2 separate regions of the Homo sapiens genome follow, and region 1 is linked to region 2. The links are contacts of gene promoters, found by promoter capture Hi-C in blood cells and fetal thymus (Javierre and others, 2016). All regions are on one chromosome and are shown on one strand. The core of a region is centred on a gene start or on the middle of the fragment in contact, and the rest is flanking DNA. Distances in the headings are between cores, read along the strand shown. Region 1 overlaps OSBPL2 (oxysterol binding protein like 2). Region 2 holds the start of GID8 (GID complex subunit 8 homolog).

What was found. The method cuts DNA at HindIII sites, captures the fragments that hold promoters and counts their contacts. A CHiCAGO score of 5 or more calls a contact.
Region 1: a fragment that was not itself captured here is called in contact with the fragment with the promoter of GID8 in region 2 in 1 of 17 cell types (neutrophils); the score reaches 6.5 in neutrophils.

What each region holds. Positions count from the first base shown.
Region 1 is chr20:62,239,899-62,245,929 of GRCh38, reverse strand. All of the region lies in intron 1 of OSBPL2 (oxysterol binding protein like 2), which reads right to left. Among named protein-coding and RNA genes, the nearest start is that of OSBPL2, 4.4 kb to the right of the region's middle. RefSeq lists enhancers at 921-1,528, 1,529-2,137, 5,660-6,031. The HindIII fragment of the contact is 4,482 bases long and covers 64-4,545 here.
Region 2 is chr20:62,934,496-62,940,544 of GRCh38, reverse strand. GID8 (GID complex subunit 8 homolog) reads right to left here and starts at 2,398. Exons shown (of 5, transcript NM_017896.3): 1 at 2,292-2,398. It also overlaps a transcript of DIDO1 not described here. RefSeq lists silencers at 2,028-2,157, 2,228-2,457, 2,828-2,877, 3,148-3,197 and an enhancer at 1,664-2,332. The HindIII fragment of the contact is 7,388 bases long and covers 1-4,461 here.

The DNA of each region.
Region 1 (6,031 bases), core at 1,055-3,554, 690 kb after region 2:
ACGCCTTCTGCCAATTGTCGAGGAAAAAAATCAAGCCTTAATATTCCTGTCATTGTAAAAGCTTAACGGTTATTTTTACAGATTTTGTATAAATTTAGAACCAAATAAACAAGTCATATGCCATTCACAACAATGACCTTTTTTAACAAGGGGTATGTGCACGGCTGTCTGTCCTCGTCACCATCTGCAGCCCGTCACGAGTGAGGCACGTACGACTGGCCGCTCAGGCCTTTGCCCTTAAATGCACTGTGTTTTGGTGGCAATGGGATGGAATCAAGAGTGACCTTTATTGAACACTGGTTCTTGATCCTTTAGCCAAATAAGGTTAAGTCCAACTGCATCAGAAGCTCCAGGAGACAGCCCTTCTGAGCACAGAACCAGCTGGCTCTAGGTCTGCGCTTTTTAACCTGAACAACCTCTCCGCCTTCTTCAGGCCTGTATGGTTCTTCTTAGCGTGGGGCTCTACGTGGCTCATCACAAACCAGCTCCCTAACACCACACAGAATGTAACACGCCTTAGCTGAAGAACAGGTTTCAGGCCGGGCGCGGTGGCTCACGCCTGTCATCCCAGCACTTTGGGAGGCCACGGCAGGCAGATCACTTGAGGTCAGGAGCTCAAGACCAGCTGGGCAACATGGCAAAACCCCATCTCTACTAAAAATACAAAAAAATTACAGGTGGCACATGCCTGTAGTCCCAGCTACTCAGAAGGCTGAGGCACAAGAATCACTTGAACCCATGAGGCGGAGGTTGCAGTGAGCCGAGATCGCGCCACTGCACTTCAGCCTGGGCGACAGAGGCAAGACACCGTCTCAAAAAAAAAAAAAAAGAACAGATTTCAGCCCTTTATCCTAAGACACCAGCGTGGACACACGAATGGCTCAACCCTGACTCGGGAAGGCCCTGTGCTACGCGTGCCAGCCAGGCAAACTTGCCAGGTGCACATGAGGACTCTGCATCAGTCCAGAATTCACGCAGGAAGTTTCTACACTGAGAAAGGCAGGTGAACCTCTCCCACTGTGCAGACAGCAGCACCCCCACTGTTTACCATTCTCCATGCCAAGAGGGTGACCTTGAGAGGCAGGCAAAGGTGAGCCCGGCTTGGTCCCAAGAAGCAGCTGTGGGGAGTGGCAAACCTTCCCACTGGGCCTCGCGGCCAGTGTGGCCCGACGTCCCGGAAGCGGAGCCTAGCGCCCCACTCACCACAGTCAACTCCCTCAAGTCTTGTCGCTGACTTAACTGCTTCCTGTGGAATATTAATTGCCAAAAATACACCACGCACCTCGAGGAACATTACCTTGTAATGCAGTACGATGTATTTCCAAACACACAAGATGAATGCAAGCGCTTCCGTACAAAAACATGTGTTTTAATCAACCTTCTCCTTATGCAACACAATAAAAAGCTGTTCCAATGCGGCCCACGAGACTGGGTGGGAAGGCAATGGACAGGGCGCATGCCCCACAGCTCACGGGCGCCCTGCTCTCAGAAAGCCATGCCGGAGGGCAGGGAGAGCACTCCAAGGGCAGCAGCAGTCCAGCCAGCCCCCGACCCGCCGCCGCTGTGTATCTCTGATGATCAAAACCAACGGCCCCGAGAGGAGCCCAGCCTGCGGCTGCAGCTAGAGGAGAAGGAGACACCTTGTACCCACATCTCACAACCCAGCAAGGGCCACAGCAGGCGGAGGACGCGGTGAGGGAGTGGGAGGAAAATTAAGACAGCAAAGGGAAGTGAGTGACCCAGGTGAGAGGCTGTTGTCCTGCAGGGCTCCCGGCCTTCCCCAGGGCACCTGCCCAGCCAAGGAGTGGCTGGCTTGCTGGAGTGCGTCCTTGCCCTCTGGCCGCCTCCTTCTCTGTGGCCTCAGCTCCAGGCCCTCCTCACCATCGTGCCCATCTTCATCCTGTGCAGCCCTAATGGGGTCCACTGTGCTGAGAAACCTGTCACCCTAACATCAGACCTGCCCACGTGGCTGCCAACTGTGCTTCCTGAGCACCTACAGGCAGGGCTTCAAACCAAGGTCAGGGAAAACCACCAATCTCTAACCCCCCTACCCTCTGCAAAAAAAATTTTTTTTTAATTAAAAAATTTAAAAAAACAGGAAAAAAAATTTTTCGTTCATTTTTTTCCCCAGAATAATGACCCACATTATTCATATTCATGAAGTTCTCAAAGGGGTCCTTGATCTAAAAAAGGGTCCTGACCCCACCGTGGGCCTCCAGCACTTGGACTCCCCGCTGAGGACCCACCCCAGACCCTCCCGAGCTTGTTAAACACATCTCTTCCTGGGCCCCTCCCGGGAAACCCAGGCTCAGTGAAGCTGGGGCTGGGCCTTGAACCCACACTTTTTAAAAAGTTCCCCCAGCTTTTCTGATGAGAAGCAGGGGTGAAAACTCCATGATGTTAACCCAGGAGCCTTCTACCCTGACAGCCGAGCCACTGAAGAGGCGGAGCTGCCGGGCAGGCGCTGCGGGGCAGGCGCTGCGGGGCAGGGGCTGCGGGGCAGGCGCTAGGGCTCCTCGGGCACCTCTGCACTGGGACCCCTCCCCTGGCCCCAGCTCAGGCACTGCCCTGGCTCTGCTTCCGCTCAGGTGTTCCAGCATTTCCCACAGGTGAGACTTACTTGGAAGACGGGTGATGATTACAGCGAGACTCCCAGCTCTGCTACATCATCAAGAGAGGCCAAGCCAGAGCCAGGGCACTCGCAGGAGCTCGCCACCACAGACGCAGCCCGTGTCCTCTTTCACAGTAAGAGGGTAGCCCCACGCCCTGTGCGCACCTGACACCTGCCGTCATTATCGGAGTCACCGAAATGTCACTGAATCACAGTCCCCCTAGTTTTAAGGCAATAATGGAAGTTGCTCTCTGGCCGAGCACAGTGGCACAAGGTCCCAGGTTACAGGGGGCTCTTTCTCACGATCAGCCTTGGATCAGCCTTAGGTTTATTCAGTACAAAGCACAGGCACTCACTTCCACACCATAGTCCTCCTTCCTCTACAGCTGCCTCCGTCTTTTCTGGAACCAAAACTCCACACAACTCCCTACACACTACAGTCCTCCCTGCCTGGTGCTCCTCCAAGAACTCCCCGTATGAGCCCACAACAGGCGCTCTCTGGGCACCCCTGAAGGTTGCAGTCCCAGCGCCTTTGATAAAGAAATGTGCTCAGTGTCTGCTCAGCCAAGAGCCCCTCAGACCCTTCCCACCCCTGACTTGCCTCAGCGTCGGGGCCACAGCCCCCAGGCCCTCAGTGCGCAGGTGAGAAGTACACACCTTACACCCAGGAGAGAGGCCTGATGACCGCCACAAGCCCTGAGGGTGCGGGAACCTCTTCAGGCCCCAAACTATGGAGCCAGCCACTAGCTCAACAGGACTGATCCCAGAGTTTGTTTCTCAAAATACATCAAGCGAGTGTTCCACTGAAAACAGAAGGCAAGCAAAGAGAAACAGCCACAAACATCAGGCACGAGTCTCAGATCCAGTCCCTTATAAAAGCTCACTTCCACCACTCAGCTCAACTCAGAGGTCACAGGATTTGCATCAGCAGAAGCTCCAGCGGAAAGAATGTGGATGCTGTGACATTCTGCTGAATGATCCCAAGTTCTTTTCTGAATCTGGAAGGAAAAGGAAAGAAGTGCCAAAAAGTTCACGCAAACAGTGCTGTGAGCTATTTAACAGATGCTTTTATTATCAAGAGCTGCAGAGGTGGGCCGGGACACCACCACGCTTCCACAGTGGGACCCTAGCCCAAACCAGCAGCCTGAGAGGCCGGGACACCATGCCTGAAACTCACTAGCAAGAACACTCTGAAAAAGCAAAAATGACAGCAGATTTACAAATCAACTAGCATATGTGGAAAGTGCATTTAAACTATCAAACCAGAACCCACCATATTAACTCAGGACTTCGGTCCTTTTTAATAATCAGTCATGTTCAAATACTGACTTCCTTTCAGTGTAGATAAGGTTATAAATCAACCTGAAAATGTACTACATATTGGAATTAAACCTCGTACCTGACAATCTGTGCTAAACACTAAACGAAATGTCAACACCCAAACAGGAAGTATGACAATGACTAGGAGAAAATCAGCCCACACCCAAAGATCCCGGGACACCTGAGGGTGTGACTGCTGCACTGCTGAGAGGCTCCAGCTTCAGCAGGTGTTGGAGCCAAGGGCGGCCCAGGCACCCACAACGTATCAGACACTTGATGTTATATTTTCACAGATTCCACATAGTAATCCGTCTTACAGGCAAAGACACTGAAGGCAGGAGCCAGTGGGAACCCACCCAGGACCCAAGAGCCCTGGTCTGGCGCACCACCTTCGCAAAGATGCTGTGACTCAGGAAGGCACGGCGCCAGCTGTGCCTGCACGGCCAGACAAGACATGGCTTGCATGGGGACATTAAAGAAATCACCTTGAGGAGATGGCAGCTTCCCTGCTTGAAGACAGCATAAGAACCTAAAATGTGTCAACAATTCCCTTATACAAAATGTCACTTTTGTAATTGGCTGAATGTACTAAAACTTTAAAAGTCGAGCAAGCTTTAATGACAAATCCAAGACCCAAAATTAGCCAGGTGTGGTGGCGGGCGCCTGTAGTCCCAGCTACTTGGGAGGCTGAGGCAGGAGAATGGTGTGAACCCGGGAGGCAGAGCTTGCAGTGAGCTGAGTTCGCGTTTGCAGTGAGCCGAGTTCGCGCCACTGCACTCCAGCCTGGGCGACAGAGCGAGACTCCATCTCAAAAAAAAAAAAATTCCAAGACCCATCTGCTGGCATCTCCTGGACGGCACAGAGGAGAGACACTGGGATGAAAGTCAAGTGGCATTTTTTTCACATTCAAACAGCACCTCTCATTAACATGTGGAACACAGCAGAGTCTGACCCTCTCAACGCACTCGAGGCGTGGAAGAAAAATGTCCTACGTGTGTACTCTAAGGCAGTGTGTGAAGTCCCCTGGAACTGAACTCAGAACGGAGACCTCAGAGTCTGGACTGTACGCCTGTCAGCACCCATGCCCCTCAGTCCTCCCTCTTCACACAGAGACCACCACTGAATCTGCCAGTAACAAAGGAGCTGGGTGGCAGGGAAGGTATTCTGGCAAAATCCTGAATGGTCAAACGGTAAATTACTTTATTTCAGAAAAAATGAAATGGCTTTGTAAACACTCAGGCTCACAAAAAAGAAAGTCTATTAGTTCTATATGTAGCAAAATCCCGAAATTCTGACACAGAGTAATGCAGCATGATTAGAATATTCTAAACGAAAATGTTAAATGAAAATCTTGATATTAAAAGGCAGTACAGGGTAGTGTTTAAGAGTGTGAACCCTGGAGCCTGGGTTCAAATCCATATTTCATAATTTACTGCTGTGTGGTTTAGGTAAGTTACTTAACCTCTCTGTTCCTTAGCTTCCTCATGAATGAACTAAGGATAATGTCAGTACCTGCCCAGTGGACTGTTGTGAAGATCACACAAAGAAAGTGAATACGACATGCTCGTAACAGTCCTGGAACAATCATTATTAAATATTATCGTCTGCTGGGGTAAGAGCTGTCATTAATAGATGGACACATGAAGAAAACAGGGTAAATTCTATGAGGGAGACTCAGTCACTCACTCACTCATTGCCACATTCTAAAAGACGACACTGTGGCAGGCACTGGGCTGGGCAGGGAGGAAGTGCCACCGACAAAGTTCCTGTCCTCAACAAGGGGAAGGTAACTGGCATTCCGGGGTGCGCACTAGGTGTCAGAGACTGTGGTAGAAAATGATTTCATGGCAGGGCGCGGTGGCTCGCACCTGGAATCCTAGCACTTTGGGAGGCTGAGGCAGGCGGATCCCTTGAGGTTAGGAGTTCGAGACCAGCCTGGCCAACATGGTAAAACCCCATCTCTACTAAAAATAAAAAAATTAGGCGGGCGTGGTGGCCGGCGCCTGTGGTCCCAGCTAGATGGGAGGCTAAGGCAGGAGAATGGCTTGAAGCCGGGAGACGGAGGTGGCAGTGAGTCAAGATCGCACCACTGCACTCCAG
Region 2 (6,049 bases), core at 1,149-3,648:
ACCCCGTCTCTACTAAAAATACAAAAAATTAGCCGTGCTCGGTGGCGGGCGCCTGTAGTCCCAGCTACTCCAGAGGCTGAGGCAGGAGAATGGCGTGAACCCGGGAGGCGGAGATTGCAGTGAGCCGAGATCATGCCACTGCACTCCAGCCTGGGCGACAGAACAAGACTCCGTCTCAAAAAAAAAAAAAAAATTTGCCGGGCATGGTGGCAGATGCCTGTAATCCCAGCTACTCGGGAGGCTGAGGTAGGAGAATGGCGTGAACCCGGGAGGTGGAGCTTCTAGTGAGCCGAGATGGTGCCACTGCACTCCAGCCTGGGCGACAGAGCGAGACTCCGTCTCAAAAAAAAAAAAAAAGAAAAAAAAGAAAAGAAAAAGAGAGTTGCAGGAGAGGCCAAATCTGCCGTGAGTTTTATCAGGAACAACAAGACAAAATACATGACATGTGCTTTAGCAACAAATATGTACGTGGCAAACCTATTTTGTTTGTTTTTTTTTAAATAAGGGCATGAAAGCTGACACTCAGGAGGGGGTTACCTGTGGGAGGGGCAAATGGCTGAAGCCCCAGAGGCAGCTGTTCCGGCTTTGGGAGAATGGGTGGATACCTGAGACAGGCAGGGGCACGCCACCGTCCACTCTGTCTTTCTCTTTTGCCACTGATACATACGTTACACATACTACTTTATACGAAGTACTGCTAAAGTGTTTCAATAAATTAAAAAACTTTGGTCTCTTGGCTGAAAATGGGATGAATGCAGGGTGGTGAGATCTGAGCAGCCAGTCCCTTAGGGAGACACCCAAGCGAGAGAGAACATCGGCAGAAGAGATGGAGAGCAAGGTGAGATCAAGATGCTTTGGCCAGAGTCAATGGCTGCTGCTAGACAGATTACCGGACAAAAGAGAGGGAAGAATAGAAGATGGTCACAGGTTTCAAGCATGAGAGGCCCTGCAAGATGGGGCCACAAATAAGGAGGAAGGACTGGAAGAAGAACAGGTTTGAGAAGCAGGGCAAGTTTGACGTGACTATTAGACATGCGTCTGGAGAAATCAAGCAGGTGTCTGAATTACAGATCCTGAGCTCAGAGCTGAAAACATGAATTAGTGAAATAAGGGGCGGGGGGGGCGGTGCTGGGGCACAGGGATATTTAAAGCCAAGAATTCAGCAAAGACCATAGGAAGAGCGTAGATAGGGAATGAGAATCGCCATTACTTGGAGGATGCCAACCTTGAAGGTAAAGCAGAGAAAGTGGCACCAGCAGAAGAAAACTTGATGTGGAGCGGCAGGTAAAGTGGAGGAGAAACCAGGAGTCGCTGTCACACACGAACACCCATCTTTCGTTGTCAACTGCAAAACTCACTGAGACCAACTTTTTATTCACGACAATTAATGGTAACTTAAGGACTCATTTTCTTTTTCTTTTTTTTTTGAGACAGAGCCTCGCTCTGTCGCCCAGGCTGGAGGGCAGTGGCGCGATCATGGCTCACCGCAGCCTCGACCTCCTGGGCTCAAGCGATCCTCCCACCTCAGCCTCCAGAGTAACTGGGACAACAGGAGCGCACCACTCTGCCTGGCTAATTTTTTTATTTTTAGCAGAGAAGGGAGTCTCGCTGTTGCCACGGCTGGTCTCGAACTCGCGGGCTCAAGTGATCCGCCCACTTCGACCTCCGCCACCGCGCCCGGCCCTAGGACCAACGTTAAGAGCTCCCTAGGAAAAGGCACCTTTTCTCTCGGCCCATTCGGTGATCGGCACTCACAGCGCTTCCACTCCGGGCAGTTACGTGCGCCCATGAAAAGCAACAACTTTGTAGAACTGGCCAGTCCTGTTAGCAGGAAGAACTCGGTAGTCTCAAACTCCAGCATAAAAAGATTCAGCAGAAGAAAACACCCGTGTGCTGAAGACTCCTACTTTCCATGCCACACTTTACATCCTCACCCGCTCGGTTTCTGCTTTAAAGCAGCAGATTTTATTAAAAAGACTTCGTTACGGACGTCGCTCCTCCACAGAGACAGCTACCGCCGCCCCTCAGGCTGGCCGGGACCGCCCCAGAACACCAGCGCCTGAGGCCGCGCGCCTGGAGGCTGAGCCCTGACTGCCCCCTGGGCACCGGCGCGGGGCGGCCGTCCGGGCCTGGACTCACTGCGCGCCCCAATTCCGCACCTGCCAGCGCCGGCGCTTCCAAGGCCCCCAGAGCGGGGGCGGCGCGCACCCCGGCCACATCCCGCCTGCCCGCCCGGCCCGGCCCCGGGAGACGCTCGGCCCGGCCGCCCGGGCCCGCCGCCGCCATCTTACCGTGCGGAACCTGCCTCCCGCGCTGCGCGGTCTGGGCGGCTGCGGCTCCGCAGCCTCTCCTGGGCTGGGGAGAGGTGGCGGCCGCCGGGGCGCCCGAGTAGAAGGAGGCAGAGGTGGGGGCCGCGGCGGAGGCGGGGGCGGGGGCGGGGGCGGGGAGCGGGAGGGCAGGCGCACCGGAGGCCGCCCCTCAGCACCTCTCGCGACAGCAAGAGAGCGCGAGAGCGCGAGCCGATGACCAATGAAGCGCCCCCGCGAGGGGGCGGGGCGGACGGCCTCCCGGAAGCGCGGAACCTCAGCTTCCGTACTTGCGCAGAACTCCCCTCGCGGCGACCACGCACTACGGGTTGGCGCCAGAGTCAAAAGGCGTCGGCCCTCTGGCAAGATGGCTGCTGCGGAGGCGTTGGAGCGCGGAAATCTGGAACCGGGATGGCGACGTCTACACTGAGTCGGAGGCGAAGGTCCCAGCTTTTTTCCTGTCGTTTGCGTGAGGCCGCACGGGGTGGGGCGGGGGAAAGGCGCCGGGTGTCCGCGGCCGCCCCTCAGACGGGGAGGGAGTCCCCTCCCGACCGGCGGCCTTCCAGGGCTAGTGTCCCTGAGGTCCAGGGAGAGACGGCTGACCCGAGACCGGGCTGGGCGAGAGCTGTGCTGTCTGCGCGTTGAAGCGAGTTCCCCCGCTTTACTCGAGATGTTGTTGAGCGCGTCCTCACTCGAGGCCAGGTGGGGAATCAGAAGGGCCCTGCCCTCAGGGCGCCTCCCATGGGCTACGCCGAAGGGCGGGACGCGGCCAGGGCGCGCGGGACAAAGGAGACCCCACTTGCTTGCGGGGCGGAGTCCCGGCGGCGGCGCGGGGCAGGGCCGGGGTTACTCGGTGACTGGAGACCCTCCCGGCAGGAGCGCGGGTTGAGGCCGCACTTGGGTATTTGCGCGTTTACTTGCTTATTGCCTGTCCGCTCAGGAGGAATGCGAAGTCTGTCATTGCAGGGTCCCATGTTTCCGTTGCTGGGAAGTACCTTAAAATATTTGATAGAGCCGAAGGAAGAAATAGAGTCCTTGAGGGGCAGCTCCTGATTTCATCTGTGAGGAATTCACGGGACGGCTTCTTTCTGAAGTCAGGGGTGAGGTGGTTTCGTGTGTTTGCTTACAAGCGAGCTGAACAACGTGTAAGCTATGTCGGTCGGTCTACTCAGCGACAGTAAGTCCAGTTCGGCAAATAGGTTGGAGGAGACTGATTTTGGACATTTTCCGTTAATCGAAAGAGCTAAATCTGCAGGTATAAGGTCTTGACAAAATTATGCTTCATATGCAGAGGCAGTACATGCCAGTAATTTTTTCATTTGCAACTACATAACCCTATGGGAAACAGTTATTGGTCTTTATTTAGTTATTTATTTTGAGACGAAGTCTCACTCTCGCCCAGGCTGGAGCGCAGTGGCGCCATCTCGGCTCACTGCAACCTCCGCCTCCCGGGTTCAAGCGATTCTCCTGCCTCAGCCTCCCGAGTAGCTGGGACCACAGGGGCGCACCACCACGCCCAGCTAATTTTTGTATTTTTAGTAGAGACGGGGTTTCCCCTTGTTGGTCAGGCTGGTCTCAGTGTCTTGACCTCGTGATCCGCCCGCCTCGGACTCCCAAAGTGCTGGGATTACAGGCGTGAGCCACCGCTCCCGGCCTATTTTGATTTTATTTTATTCTATTTTTTGAGAAGGAGTCTCACTTTGTTGCCCAGGCTGGAGTGCACTGTCATGATCTCGACTCACTGCAACCTCCGCCTCCTGGGTTCAAGTGATTCTCCTGCCTCAGCCTCCCGAGTAGCTGGAACTACAGGCACCCGCCACCACGCCCGGCTACTTATTTTGTATTTTTAGTACGGGTGGGGTTTCACCATGTTGGCTAGGCTGGTCTCGAACTCCTGACCTCAAATGATCACCCACCTCGGCCTCCCAAGGTGCTCGGATTACAGTCATGAGCCACCGCATCCGGCCTATTTTTATTTTTTAAAGTTTTTTAGAGACGGGGTCTTGCCTTCTTGCCCAGGCTGGTCTCGATCTCCTGGGCTCAAGCCATCCTCCCGCCTCGGCCTCTGGGAGTGCTGGGTTTACAGGCGTCAGCCACCATGCCCAGCCTGAACGTCAAGGAGAAAGTGTGCAAGGGGATGCACGAGCAGAAAGCTTGAGTGCTAGCGCCTTAAGGCGACATTCCTTAACATTCCAGTCCAAAGAGGCTGTCTCAGTGCCTGCCTGTGGGTCACAGGTTAATGCTCCTCCTCCCAACAGCCAACCGGTTACCAAGTCCTGCTCGAGCCCCCTCCTTAATCCTCTCTAGAAACTGGCTCCTTTGTGTTGTTTCCCAGCCTCTTCCACCATAACGTGGAAGCCATCATCTTTGCTTTTTGGATTGCCAGGATGTCTCCGTAACTCCTGTTGAGCTCCAGAAGTCCTGTCACTACCTCTCACATAGCAGACAGGGTGATCTCTCCAAAAGCCATCACTCATTGACTCTATCCTTCTAACATCCCTTGGGGACTCCCCAGTTGCCTGTGTAAAGTTAGCGCAGCTATAAGTCTGCACTCCTGATCTTACTCTCTGCTCCAGCCATCCCAGCTGATTGGAGGTTTTCTCATGTCAACAAGCTTTGTTATCGCTGTGCTCTCAGTCTGGGCCCTAGCTAACAGCCTTCCCTAGGCTAACTCCTGCTCACCTCCTCAGTAGAGACGTGGCTTTCTCGGGGAAGTCTTCCCTAACAAAGCTGGATTGAGTGCCTTTCCTTTATGCTTGCACAGAATCCTAACTTAGCTCTTCGTAGCTCTTAGCACACGGTCCGTGTGGTTGCTGTCTGATGGGATGTCATGATTCAGCATAAAATGGTAAGCTTCATGTGAGTTGATTATGGCTAAATCGTAATAGGAGCTCCATAAATATTTATTTGTTGAGTGACGAAGGAATAAATGAGTGAATGATTATGAGGATCTTAACTGGAAGCAATACTAGCAAAAATGGAAAGAGACCTTCAGTCAGGATGGAAATGAGCAGTCCTTGGTGACTGACAATTTGTGGGAGCTAAGAAGGAAGACCAGAGTGATGCGGGTGAGTAGCCCAGCTGATGAGGTGGTGGCACCAACTGAGAATGATCATGAAGAAGAAGGAGGTGCAACAACGAGGGAAAGGTGGTGAGTTCACCGTGGGCCTCATTCAATTGGAGGTGCCTGTGGGACACATCTAAAGCTCAAGGGGAAGAGCAGGGCTAGAGTTGAGAGTTGATGGGTACAGTATTCAGAGGAAGCCCATGGAGACAAGGAGTGGATCAAGTCCAGAATGCAGAGCTGCAAGCTGTATTCACTAAGGAAGAAGCTGCCTATGAAGGGTAGCAAGAAAGTGGCCGGGGGGTCTGACAAGAACCAGGGGCTTCAAAGGCGCTCCCTGAAGCCACAGGGTGTCCAGTTTCGAGAAGCTATGTTAGCAGTTTCCAGGCGGCAGGGAAGTCCAGGGTGAAGGTGCCAAAACTCCCCATTTGATGGTTTTTGGTGAGAGAGCAAGAAGTTGAGAGATGTGATGGGAATGGGAAACATTGGAGTGTGGTGAGCAGGGGTGAGGTGAAGACAGCGTAGTATGTTGAAGGTGTTCAGAAGCCATTAGGGCCATGCACTTATGTACTGAGAAGTGAGCAGTGAGCTAGATGCCACAAAACGCTGCAGCAGCAGGTGAGACTGAGGAGCAGGGAGGGGGGTCAAGGATAATTTCTCAGCTTCTGGCCTATGAATT